Linked DNA regions of Homo sapiens: region 2 is linked to region 1. The links are contacts of gene promoters, found by promoter capture Hi-C in blood cells and fetal thymus (Javierre and others, 2016). All regions are on one chromosome and are shown on one strand. Each heading gives the region's core, a stretch centred on a gene start or on the middle of the fragment in contact. The rest is flanking DNA. Distances are from core to core; before and after follow the strand shown. Region 1 holds the start of DDX10 (DEAD-box helicase 10). Region 2 overlaps C11orf65 (chromosome 11 open reading frame 65).

The links. Contacts are between HindIII fragments. The CHiCAGO score rates a contact against its expected background, and 5 or more counts as called.
Region 2: a fragment that was not itself captured here is called in contact with the fragment with the promoter of DDX10 in region 1 in 1 of 17 cell types (naive CD4 T cells); the score reaches 6.0 in naive CD4 T cells.

Annotation. Positions count from the first base shown.
Region 1 is chr11:108,662,973-108,668,886 of GRCh38, forward strand. It overlaps DDX10 (DEAD-box helicase 10), which reads left to right and starts at 2,097. Exons shown (of 18, transcript NM_004398.4): 1 at 2,097-2,367. The coding sequence starts at 2,182. The HindIII fragment of the contact is 12,853 bases long and covers 1-5,914 here.
Region 2 is chr11:108,414,663-108,420,479 of GRCh38, forward strand. The region is part of intron 3 of C11orf65 (chromosome 11 open reading frame 65); the gene reads right to left. Among named protein-coding and RNA genes, the nearest start is that of C11orf65, 50 kb to the right of the region's middle. The HindIII fragment of the contact is 4,000 bases long and covers 1-3,495 here.

The sequences.
Region 1 (5,914 bases), core at 847-3,346:
TTCCGGGTTCAAGCAATCCTCCCACCTTGGCCTCAGAAAGTGCTGGGATTATAGCTATGAGCCACCGTGCCTGGCCCCTAGATGTTATTGAGGTCTTTCTCTTGGACATTCAGTTTTCCTAGAGTTGAACCTTCCAGTTTCTTGCCTGGGGCGCATATATGCCTGACTCCTACAGTTTTAGGAAAAAAGTGAGTTATAGCTGAGGGCCTTATCGTTCTGTAGGTATGCATATGTGGTATACATATGTAGTAAAATACACATCACATAAAATTTACCATTTTAGCCATTTGTAAGTATACAATTCAGTTGCATTAATTACATTCTCATTGTTGTGCAACCAATCTGCAGAACTCTTTTCATCTTACCAAACTGGAACTCTGCACTGATTAAACAGTAACCCCCTGGTTGCCTGAGTCCCTGGCAACCACAAGTCTACTTTCTCTATTATTTTGACAACTCTAAGTTTCTCATATAAATAGAACCATATATAGTATTTGTCCTTTTGTGACTGGCTTATTTCACTTAGCTTAATATTCTTAAAGTTTATCCACGTTGTGGCATGTGTCAGAAATTCCTTCTTTATGAAGGCTGAATAATATTCCATTTTAGGTACATATTATGTTTTGTTTACTCATTCATCAGTTGATAGACACCTGGGTTGCTTCCACATTTTAGCTATAGTGCTGTGGTGAACACGGTATGCAAATATCTGAGACCCTGCTTTCGATTATTTTGGCTATGCATACCCAGAAGTGAAATTGCTGGCTCACGTGGAGTTCTATTTTTAATTTTTTGAGGATGTATATACACTTTCATGTAATCACTCCTTATTGAGCTTTACTGTCTACCACATCTAGTGTTCCTGAGTGTGGAAATTCTCTTGTTCACCTCCTGTCCTCACTCCCTTCCAATAAGCCATGTCTTGTTTGGAGGATGGGCATAGAGTTGAGAGTAGTGATCTGGATATGTGGGGTTGGAAAGGAAATTTGAGAGCCCAAAATTCTGCCTGTGAACTTTGAACTCAATTTTCCAATCTCCTTTGCTACAGCTAAGCTCTCCCACCCACATCCGGTGTTTTCCTGGAGGCTGTAGGTAAATGTGTCAAAAAATTCAATTCATTGAAAGCCAGTTCACTTAAATGTCCAACTTGCAATAACTTTTCTATTACCTCCTTTTTTTTTTTTTTTTGACGGAGTTTCACTCTTTCACCCAGGCTGTGGTGAAGTGGGGCGATCTTGGCTCACTATAACCTCCGCCCCCGGGGTTCAAGCGATTCTCCTGCCTCAGCCTCCCAAGTAGCTAGGATTATAGGTGTGCACCACCACGCCTGGCTAATTTTTGTATTTTTAGCAGAGACAGGGCATCACCATATTGGCCAGGCTGGTCTCGACCTCCTGACCTCAGGTGATCCACCCACCTCGACCTCCCAAATTGCTGGAATTACAGGCGTGAGCCACCGTGCCCGGCCTCTATTACCTACCTCCTTACGTTTAGTTATCATTTTGTCTCCATAAAAGCATTTTAAGGCAAATTCAATTTGATTCCGTTCCAGTTTCCTTGCTGTTGCAGCTAGAGTCTGAGGGGCCCAGAGGAAAAGGAAAACCCAGAGGGGCATAAGAAGAATATAGAATATTCATTTTTATTCCTGAGGAAGTACAACCACCATGGATGGAAATCAGAAGTCACTAACTAGCTGTTTACTTCTGGGCAAATCTTTTGGCTCGTTGGCCCGAAAAGTGCAAAACGAGGGTCACAATTTTCATTCACAGATTGTATGTGTTTACACACATACTCACGAACGCTTAGCAAAGTTGAACCTGGAGCAAATGTGTTAATAGCCCTTAAAGGGTCAGTGTATGACGTCACCATAGTAACAACAACAGTGCGCATGCGTTTTTTTTTAAAGAGCCGGCGTGCTCCCGGCTCGGCTCAGCTCGCCCCCTTCCGTGGAGTGCTGCGCCCCCGTTTCCCCAGGCTGCCCCTCCCAGCAGGAGCCAATTCGCCAATCACAGCCCTCCTTTTCCTGACGTCATTGGCGCGTGCCCCGGTTTCAAAAGCTCGGGGGCGGGCTTCTGAGTTCGCGCATGCGCCTCTGTGCGTTTGTCCCATGCTGGTTCCGTGAGTCTGGCCTTAGGTGTCTCGTGTCTGGGGTTGATCCGAGCTGTCGCCGCCGCCGCCGCAATGGGCAAAACGGCCAACTCTCCGGGTTCGGGAGCCCGACCCGACCCGGTGCGGAGCTTCAATCGCTGGAAGAAAAAACACAGCCATAGGCAGAACAAAAAGAAGCAGTTGAGGAAGCAACTGAAGAAACCCGAATGGCAGGTCGAGCGCGAGAGTATCAGCCGCCTCATGCAGAACTATGAAAAGGTGAGGCCGGCGCTGGGGAGGGGGCTCGGGCCGGCCAGCAGCGGGGCAGCGTCTCACTGCGGCGAGGAGTTGCAGAGTGGAGGCGGCGGATCTGTCACCGGGACCCGGCCGGGAATGAGAGGTCACGCCGGGTGCCACAGCTCAAACCTCTGCACCGTTCTGGCCACTCTTCTGCTTGCCACACTGTTCCTAAAAAAATAATAGAAATGCGGCCGTACCTAAGGGTAGGGAGACTAATGCTGTAATAGCTACAGTCATATTCATATTAATAATACTGATGACAATAGTGGTAATAATGACACCTACATTTTTAAGCACTCACCATGTGCTTACAGTAATTGTTTGACTTGATCTGAGGTATGGATATTAATAATCCTATTTAACAGATGAGATAATTGAGGTTCTAAGAGGAATGAAACTTGTCCGAATCTTTCACGCTTAGTAGGTGGTGTGGAATTGGAAGCTAGATCCATGTCTTTCTAATCCCAAAGCCTTTGCTTTTAACCATGAAGCCAGACTGCATCCCTCAACATCATCTATGCTCCTTCCTGTGGCCACCTCATTTTCTCCACAGGCTTCATGTCCCCATCCAAGAATTGGCCTAGAAAAGCTGGACCGCTGGTCTGTTTCTGTCACCTATCATCCCCACATTGTAGCTGGTGTTCCCAGATGAGTATACCTGTAATGATCACTTTGACCTCCTGACTTCTTCCCCCAACCTCCAGACTCCACAGGTCTGTCAATTCCTCTTTTCCCTTTCCCTAAATCCCATGTTTGTTGGTCTTCACCCACATCTTTCAGCTTCTCAGCCCCCTTCTAGTGCAGTACAATCAGGGATTTAACAGATGGAACATTCTTGTAACTAAGGTTGCCATTGTAACAAATTACCACAAACTTGGCGGCTTAAAACAACAGAGATCTTGAGGTCAGGAGTTCGAGACCAGCCTGACCAACATGGTGAAACCCCGCCTCTACTAAAAATACAAAAAAATTAGCTGGGCCTAGTGGTGGGTGCCTGTAATCCCAGCTACTCGGGAGGCTGAGGCAAGAGAATCGCTTGAACCCGGGAGGCAGAGGTTGCAGTGAGCCCAGATCGCACCATTGCACTCCAGACTGGGTGACATGAGTGAGACTCTGTCTTAAACAAACAAACAAAAAAGCCCAGCAACAACAGAGATTTACCTTGTCACAGTTCTGGAGGCCATACGTCTGAAATCAGTTTCACTGGGCCAAAATCAAGGTGTCAGCAGGGACTTGCTCCCTCCAGAGGTTCTAGGGGAGAATCTGTTTCCTGCCTCTTGTAGCTTCTGGTGGCTGCTGGCATTCCTTGGCCTGTGGCTGCATAACTCCAGTCTCTGCCTTCTCCTGTGTCAGTCTATCTCTGTTCCTCTGTTATAAGGGCGCTTACGATTGCGTTTAGGGCCTACACAGATAATCCAGGATAATCACCCCATCCCAAGATCTTTAATTTAATCACATCTGAAAAGTCACTTTTGCCATGTAAGGTAACATTCATCCCTTCCAGAAGTTAATACATGGACATGAGTTGGGATCATTTTCAGCACCACATCCTAGCTCCACCATCTCAGCAGACCGTAGAGCTAGAAACCTAGGAGCAGTCTTAGCTACTTCTCTCTTACCTACTCTTATATCCAGTCGGTCACACTGCTGATCTGTTCTGCTTACATTTTTCAAATGCTTCTTCATCCCTACTGCATTGTCTTCAGTCCCCATCATCTCTTGCCTGGATTACTATAGTAAATATTGCTTTCAACAGGGATCAGCAAACTTTCTCTGTAAATGATAGTGAATGTTTTCAGCTTTGTAGTCCTAAGGGTGGAACTACTCAATTGTTCCCTTGTAATACAAAAGCTGCCATAGAAATACTTAAATGAATGGGTGTTGTTTTTCAGTAAAACTTTAATTAGTGAAACAGGTGGCTGATGGGCTTTGTCCCCTAGGCCTTAAACCTTTTAATTTGTCCTCTGTACTTCTGCTAGAATGATTCTTTCCAAGATGAAGATCTAATCATTTTACTGCCGATTAGAACCCTTCCTTGGCTCACAGTTACTTTTAGAAAAATTGTCAAATACAGCGTGTCAACATGTTCTAGTCTGCTGCAGAGTAAGTTATTTGTGGTCAGGCTGACCTGGTTTAAATCTCACTCTTCAGGTATTGGCTAGCCAGGTTTCTTCATCCCTCTAAGTCTCAGTTTCTTCTTTCAAAAAACCGAAGTTATTAGCCACCCAGAGTGTTGTAAGGCCCAAATGAGATAATGTGTATACACCAAGTGGTACATGATAGGCATATATGAAGGAACAGCTTGCAGTTTTGTGAATTGTACATGCTTCTTGTGCTTCTCATCCTGGTACTTGATGTTTCCACTGTGTGCAGTGAGCATACCCATCTGCCCACTCTAAGGAAAGGTACTCTTCCTTCAAGATTTAGTGCAAACTTCTCTTCATCACCTCCCCTGACCGAGTTAGGGCTACTGTGCATCTGTAGCATTTTGTAGATACCTTTATGACAACATTTATCAACTGTCTGCGATGATTGGCTTCTTTAACTTTTTTAAAAAAACTCTCCTACTAGACCATGAACATTCAAGGTCAGCAACCAGTGATACACTCGTCTTTGCACTCCCCAGAGTCTGGTAGCACAGTGCTTGTCCTTGAATAGGTGCTCAGTCAGTGTTTAGATGTTGTTTGCTGTAAGACTAGACCTTTCCCAGGTGGCTTTGCTCTGGTTGGCAGCATTGGATTATTCTTTTTTGTTTCTTGTAATTGTGAACATTTATCAAACTTTTATTCATGCTGGCTTTCCGTATACTCACCACAAATAACCCTGTGAAATTGTTCCCATTATACAGGTGAGACAACTTTAAGGCACAGCAAGGTTAAATAATTTGTGTAAGGTTAAACAGCTAAGAAGTGAAAAAGGAGTTCTAAGCCAGGTAGTCTGATACCAGTGCACCAAACCAGTAGGCTTTACTGCATTGCATTTATTTAAATCCCATTTGTTTCATTGTTGAAGGAGCAGCTTTTTCCCCCGCTAAGCATTGTTCTGTTTTACTTCTTTAATTTTAGAAATATTTTCTTAAGATTTGGTTGAGAAATAAATGCAGTGTGAAATCAGTTGTCAAGGTTAGCAATACTAGGATATAATTATTTGAATAGCAGGATTATCATTCTCTAGGTAAACAAGGTGCAGGCCCTCACTATGTGGCTCCTCAGGTGGTAGCATTGTACATAAAACTTACTACATAGCCATGGTACACAGGTGGTGCTCAGTAGCCTCACTGGTGAACTACTGAACAATTTGATTCCGAAACCTTTTAAAACAATTTGACAGGCACTTGTCTAGGCGGGTGTGAGTATATATGGAAAAAAAATACGTGCCCAAGTCCCTAGGGAACCTGGGCATGTAGGGGTTGATACAGTTTGACACGTTATATTAGTATGCATAAAATGTTATAATAGTAAGTTTGTAACATGTACCTCAGTGCTGTGGAGTTAGAGGATGGTGTAATTAGGGGAAGTTGAGTTAT
Region 2 (5,817 bases), core at 246-2,745, 250 kb before region 1:
ACAGTCTCTTCCAGAAAATAAAATCAAAGGGAATACTTCCTAACACATTTGATGAGGCCAGCATAACCCTAATACAAAAACCACACAGAGACATTACATGAAAGGAAAATTATAGACCAATATCTCTCATGAGCATAGACTTAAAAATCCTCAAAAATTTAGTAAGTCAAATCCAACAATGTATAAAAATAATTATACACCATGATCAAGTGGGATTTATTTTGCAAGGCCACTATTATATTGTATCAACAGGCTAAAGAAGAAAAGTCATATGATCATATTAGCAGATGTAGAAAAAGCATTTGACAAAATCCAACACCCATTCATGATAACAACTTTGGCAAACTAGGACTAGAGGGGAACTTCCTCTAATTAATAATATCTACAAGAAACATACACCTAATATCATACTTAATGGTGAGAAACTAAATGTTTTCCTACAAAGATGTCCCCTCACCTTTTCTATTCAACATCACACTGGAAGTCCTAGCTAATGCAATAAGACAAGAAAAGGAAATGAAAAGTATACAGATTGAGAAGGGAGAAAAAGAACTGTCTTTGTTCTCAGATGACATGATTGTCTATGTTAAAAAATCCCAATGAATCACAAGGTTAATATACTAATCAACTGCTTTATTATATACCAGCAATAAGCAACCAGAATTTGAAATTTTAAAACACATTGTCATTTATATCAGCACGCAAAAAAGTAAAATACTTAGGTATAAATCTAACAAAATATATAAAAATCGATATGAGGGAAACTACAAGACCGTGATGAAGGAAATCAAAGAAGATTTAAATGAATGGAGAGATATTCCATACACCCGAATAGGAAGACTCAATATTGTCAAGATGTCTGTTCTTCCCATCTTTCTGGATCTATAGATTCAATGCAATCTCAATCAAAATCCCAGGAACTTATTTTGTGTATAAGGACAAACTGATTATAAATTTTAAGTGGAAAGGCAAAAGACCCAGAATAGCCACTATAATATTTCAGGTGAACAACAAAGTTGGAGAATTGACACCACCCAACTTCAAGACTTACCACGAAACTACAATAATCAAGACACTGTGGTACTGGTGAAAGAATACACAAATAAATCAATGCAACAGAAGACAGAGCCCAGAAATAGACCCACACAAACAGTTAACTATTCTCTGACAAAGGGGCAAAGGCAATTTAGTGACAAAAGAATAGTCTTCAACAAATGGTGCTGGAACACCATTTGGACATTGCGGGAATCCACGTTCAAGAAAAAAAAAATCTAGACAAAGATCTTACACCTTTCACAAAACAGTAACTAAAACTGGATCATAACTTAAATGTAAAATGCAAAACTATATAACTCTTAGAAGATAACATAGGAGGAAATCTAGGTGAGCTTGGGTTTGGTGATGACTTTTTAGATATAACACCAAAAGCATAATAGATATGACGGACTTCATTAAAAAGTTGTACTCAATGAAAGACATTAAGATAATGAAAAGACAGGTCATAAACTGGGAAGAAAATACTTGCAAAACACATATCTGATAAAGGGCTGGTATTTAAAATATACAAAGAACTCTTTAACCTTCACTATAAGAAAACAAACAACCTGAATTAAAAATGGGCAAAGGACCTGTAAAGCTATCTTCACTAAAGAAGATATACAGACGATACATAAGCATATGAAAAGATGGTCAACGTTGTATGTCATTAAGGAATTACAAATTAAAACAACAATGAGGGCCCGGGCATGGTGGCTCAAGCCTGCAATCACAACACTTTGGGAGGCTGAGGCAGGTGGATCACTTGAGGTCAGGAGTTTGAGACCAGCCATGGCTAACATGGTGAAACCCCGTCTCTACTAAAAATACAAAAATTAGACGGGCGTGATGGGGTGTGAATTCCAGCTACTCGGGACACTGAGGCAGGAGAATCACTTGAACCTGGGAGGCAGAGGTTGCAATGAGCTGAGATTGTGACACTGCACTCCAGCCTGGGCGACAGAAACTCCGTGTCAAAACAACAACAACAACAAAACAAAAACAATGAGATACCTCTATACACCTTTTAGAATGACCAAATTCAAATACTGACAACACTAGATGCTAGCAAGGATGTGGAGTGGTAATTCTTTGCTGGTCGGAATGCAAAATGGCACAGCCACTTTGGAAAAAGTTTGGCAGTTTCTTATTGAACTAAATGTACTCTTACCATAAGATCCATCAATAGAGAATTTAAAAGAACAACAGCAAGAATATAAGTCAAAGGGGATAATGAGAAATAAGTGCATTGTCTGGGAGAAGATAAAAATGCAAATCTATATATGATTTCATAAGTCAAATATGCATGTTGCAATCTCTTGAATAAGTTTAAAAGAATGATAATATATAGAGAAAAATATAAAAAACTCATTCCCATAGAAGGCCATAACATGTTGAAAAAGAACGTAGAACGTCTGAGACATACAGAGAGTAAATAGTAACAGGGTAGATTTAAATCCCCAAACATCAGTAATTACATTACATGTGAATGAAGTAAATGTTCTGACAAAAGACAAAGAGTATCCTACTGGATAAAAAATGTTAGCTAACAACCTGCTGCCAGGTCAGGTGCGGCGGCTCACACCTGTAATCCCAGCACTTTGGGAGGCCGAGGCAGGAGGATTGCCTGAGTTCAGGAGTTTGAAACCAGCCTGGGCAACATGGCAAAATACCATCTCTACTAAAAATACAAAAAATTAGCCGGGCGTGGTGGCACATGCCTGTAATTCCAACTACTGGGGAGGCTGGAGCACAAGAATGCTTGAACCCGGGAGGTGGAGGTTGCAGTGAGCTGAGATAGATAGTGCCACTTCACTCTAGCCTGGGCAACAGAACGAGACTCTGTCTCAAAAAAACAAAAACAAACAAACAAAAAAAAACCTGCTGCCTATAAAAAGACACAGCAAAAATGTAAAGATTCAGAATGTTGGAAGTAAAATGACAGGAAAGATGTACCATGCAAATAAGAGACAGTTGGTGTGCGCATGTTCTCACTCATAATGGGAGTTGAACAATGAGAATGAACACATGGACACAGGGAGGGGAACATCACACTCTGGGGCCTGTCAGCAGGTGGCGGGCTAGGGGAGGGACAGCATTAGGAGAAATACCTAATGTAGATGATGGGTTGATGAGTGCAGCAAACCACCATGGCAAGTGTATACCTATGTAACAAACCTGCACATTCTGCACAAGTATCTCAAAACTTAAAGTATGATAATAAAAAAAGGAAACACAATATTACTGACAGTAAAACTTTCTGATTTGTTAAAAAAAAAAAAAGAGACAGTTGGTGTGGTTGTATTAATACCAGAAATTTGAGACCTTAAGGGACACACTTTATAATGATAAAAGGTTCAATTCAAGAAAGATACAATAATCTGAAGTATTCACTTAATAACATGGTCTCAAATATATACAAACCACCAGAAAAATAGACAAATCTTCAGTCATAGTGGAAGCTTTTAATACATATCTCTCAGTAACTGATAGTATAACTAGACAAAAATATTCAGTAAGGCTATAGAAGATTTGATCAACATAACTGAAAAATTTGACCTAATTGACATCTATGCAATACTATGCTCAATAACTAAAAAATATATATTCTTTTCAAGTACAGATAAAAATTTATAAAAAATAGACAACAGAGGATTGAAAGTACAGCACAATCAAGATAAGGGCTGACAACAAAAAGATAACTGGCTAATTTCCAAATTAAATAACTGAAATAAAGTAGAAATTTTAAAATATTTTGAACTGAATTTGATATGAAAATATGACATATCAAAACTTGTAAGCTGCAGCTAAGACCATTCTTAGATAAAAATTTATGTCCTTAAATACATATACCAGAAAAGGCTACAAGTCAATAAATTCAGCATCCATTTCAAAAAGTTAGAAAAATAACAGCAAACAGAATTCAAAGAAAATATAAAGAAGGAAATAATAAACAGCAGAAAATGATGAGGTAGGACACAAATGAACAACACAAAGAAACAACAAAGCTAAAAATTGTTTTTGGAAAAGACCAATAAAAGTAATAAACTCCAAAGAGACTGCTCAAGAAAAAAAAGAGGAGATGCAAATAACCAATACCAGGAATAAAATAAAGATAACTATTACAGATTCTAAGGCATTAGAAAGATCATAAAAAGTATTATGAATAATTTTAAGCTAATAAATTTGAAAATTTAGATGAAAACTTCCTAGAAAAATACAACTTATCAGAGCTAGCACAAGAAGAAATACAAAATAGAAATAGAACTATAATTCTAAATTGAATGTAATTTAAAATCTTTTCATGGAAAAAACTTCTGGCACAGATGGTTTCATTAGTAAATCCTTACAAAGTACATTTAAGGATGAAAATAACACTCAATGTGAAAAAGAAATTCAGAAAATAAACAGAGTAGAAACATTTCCCAATTTGTTTTAGGAGGCCAGCTAAATGTGATACCAAAATCTGACAGAGACAGTAAATTAGACGTTCTGCAGGAACACAGGTGCAAATATTTATACCAAATATTAGCAAACTAAATTCAGTGATATTTTAAAGGGATAAGATAATCATAACCAAAATGTACCTATTCTAGGAACGCTAAGACGATTTAACATTCAAACAAAAAATAAGAACAAAAGAAAAATTGTATCTCAATTAAAGCAAAAAAGGTCTCATAAAATTTAGCATCTGTTCTTGGATTTCTAAAAAACTCTTGTCTGGGCACAGTGGCTCATGTCTGTAATCCTGGCACTTTCAAAGGCCAAGGCAGGAGGATTGCTTGAGGACAAGAGTTTGAGACCAGTCTGGGCAACATAGGAAGACTCTGTCTCTACAAAAAAAGTTTTAAAAAATTAGCTGGGCATGGTGGCCCACACCTGTGGTCCCAGCTACTTGGGAGGCTGAGGTGGAAGGATCACTTGAGCCCAGGAGGTTGAGGCTGCAGTGAGCTATGATGGCACCAATGCACTCCAGCCTGGGTAACAGAGTGAGACCTGGCCTCTAAAAATAAAATCAAAAAACTCTTTTAGTTCAACAGGAATAGAAGGAAACTTCCTTAATCAGATAAAAGGATTCTATAACAAACAAACAAACAAAAATAGCATACCTCATACTTAATGATGAAATATTGATCCTTTCCCTCTGAAATCCAGAATAAGACAGTGGTTATCACTTCTATTCACCATTACTGAAGGCTCTAGCCAGTGTATAATGGCAAGAAAAAGAAATAAAATGTATCATGTTTGAAAAGGCAAAAACAAAACTCATTGAGGATGACATGATTGTTTATATTGAAAATCCAAAATAATCAATGTACACATTATTAGAATTAATAAATGAGGATTGCAAAGTTGTTGGGAACAAAGCTAATGTGCAAAAATTGATTGTCTTTCTACATAATAGCATCAAAAATAAGAAAATAAAAATTTTGTAATTAACCATTTATAGGAGCATTAAAAAGCAAGTTATAAATCTAGCAAAAGATATGTAAGACCTCTCTATAGAAAACTATAAAGCATTTGTTCAGAGAAAATTTAGAAGAACTAAATAACATTTCAAATTAGGTTTTCCAAAAGAAGATGCTTATATGAAGTTTGAGTGCCACAGGTTTATTAGGGCTCAATACCTATGGAAGAAAGGGGAGGGAAGAAGAACTGGGCAGAAGAAGAGTTGGAACTGCAATGTAAGCCACACAAAGCCTGGGCCAATTCTGCTTGGACCTCTAAAGTGAATACTGCCACAATGGCTTCTAGACCCATCTCCTCACCCACCACATTCTG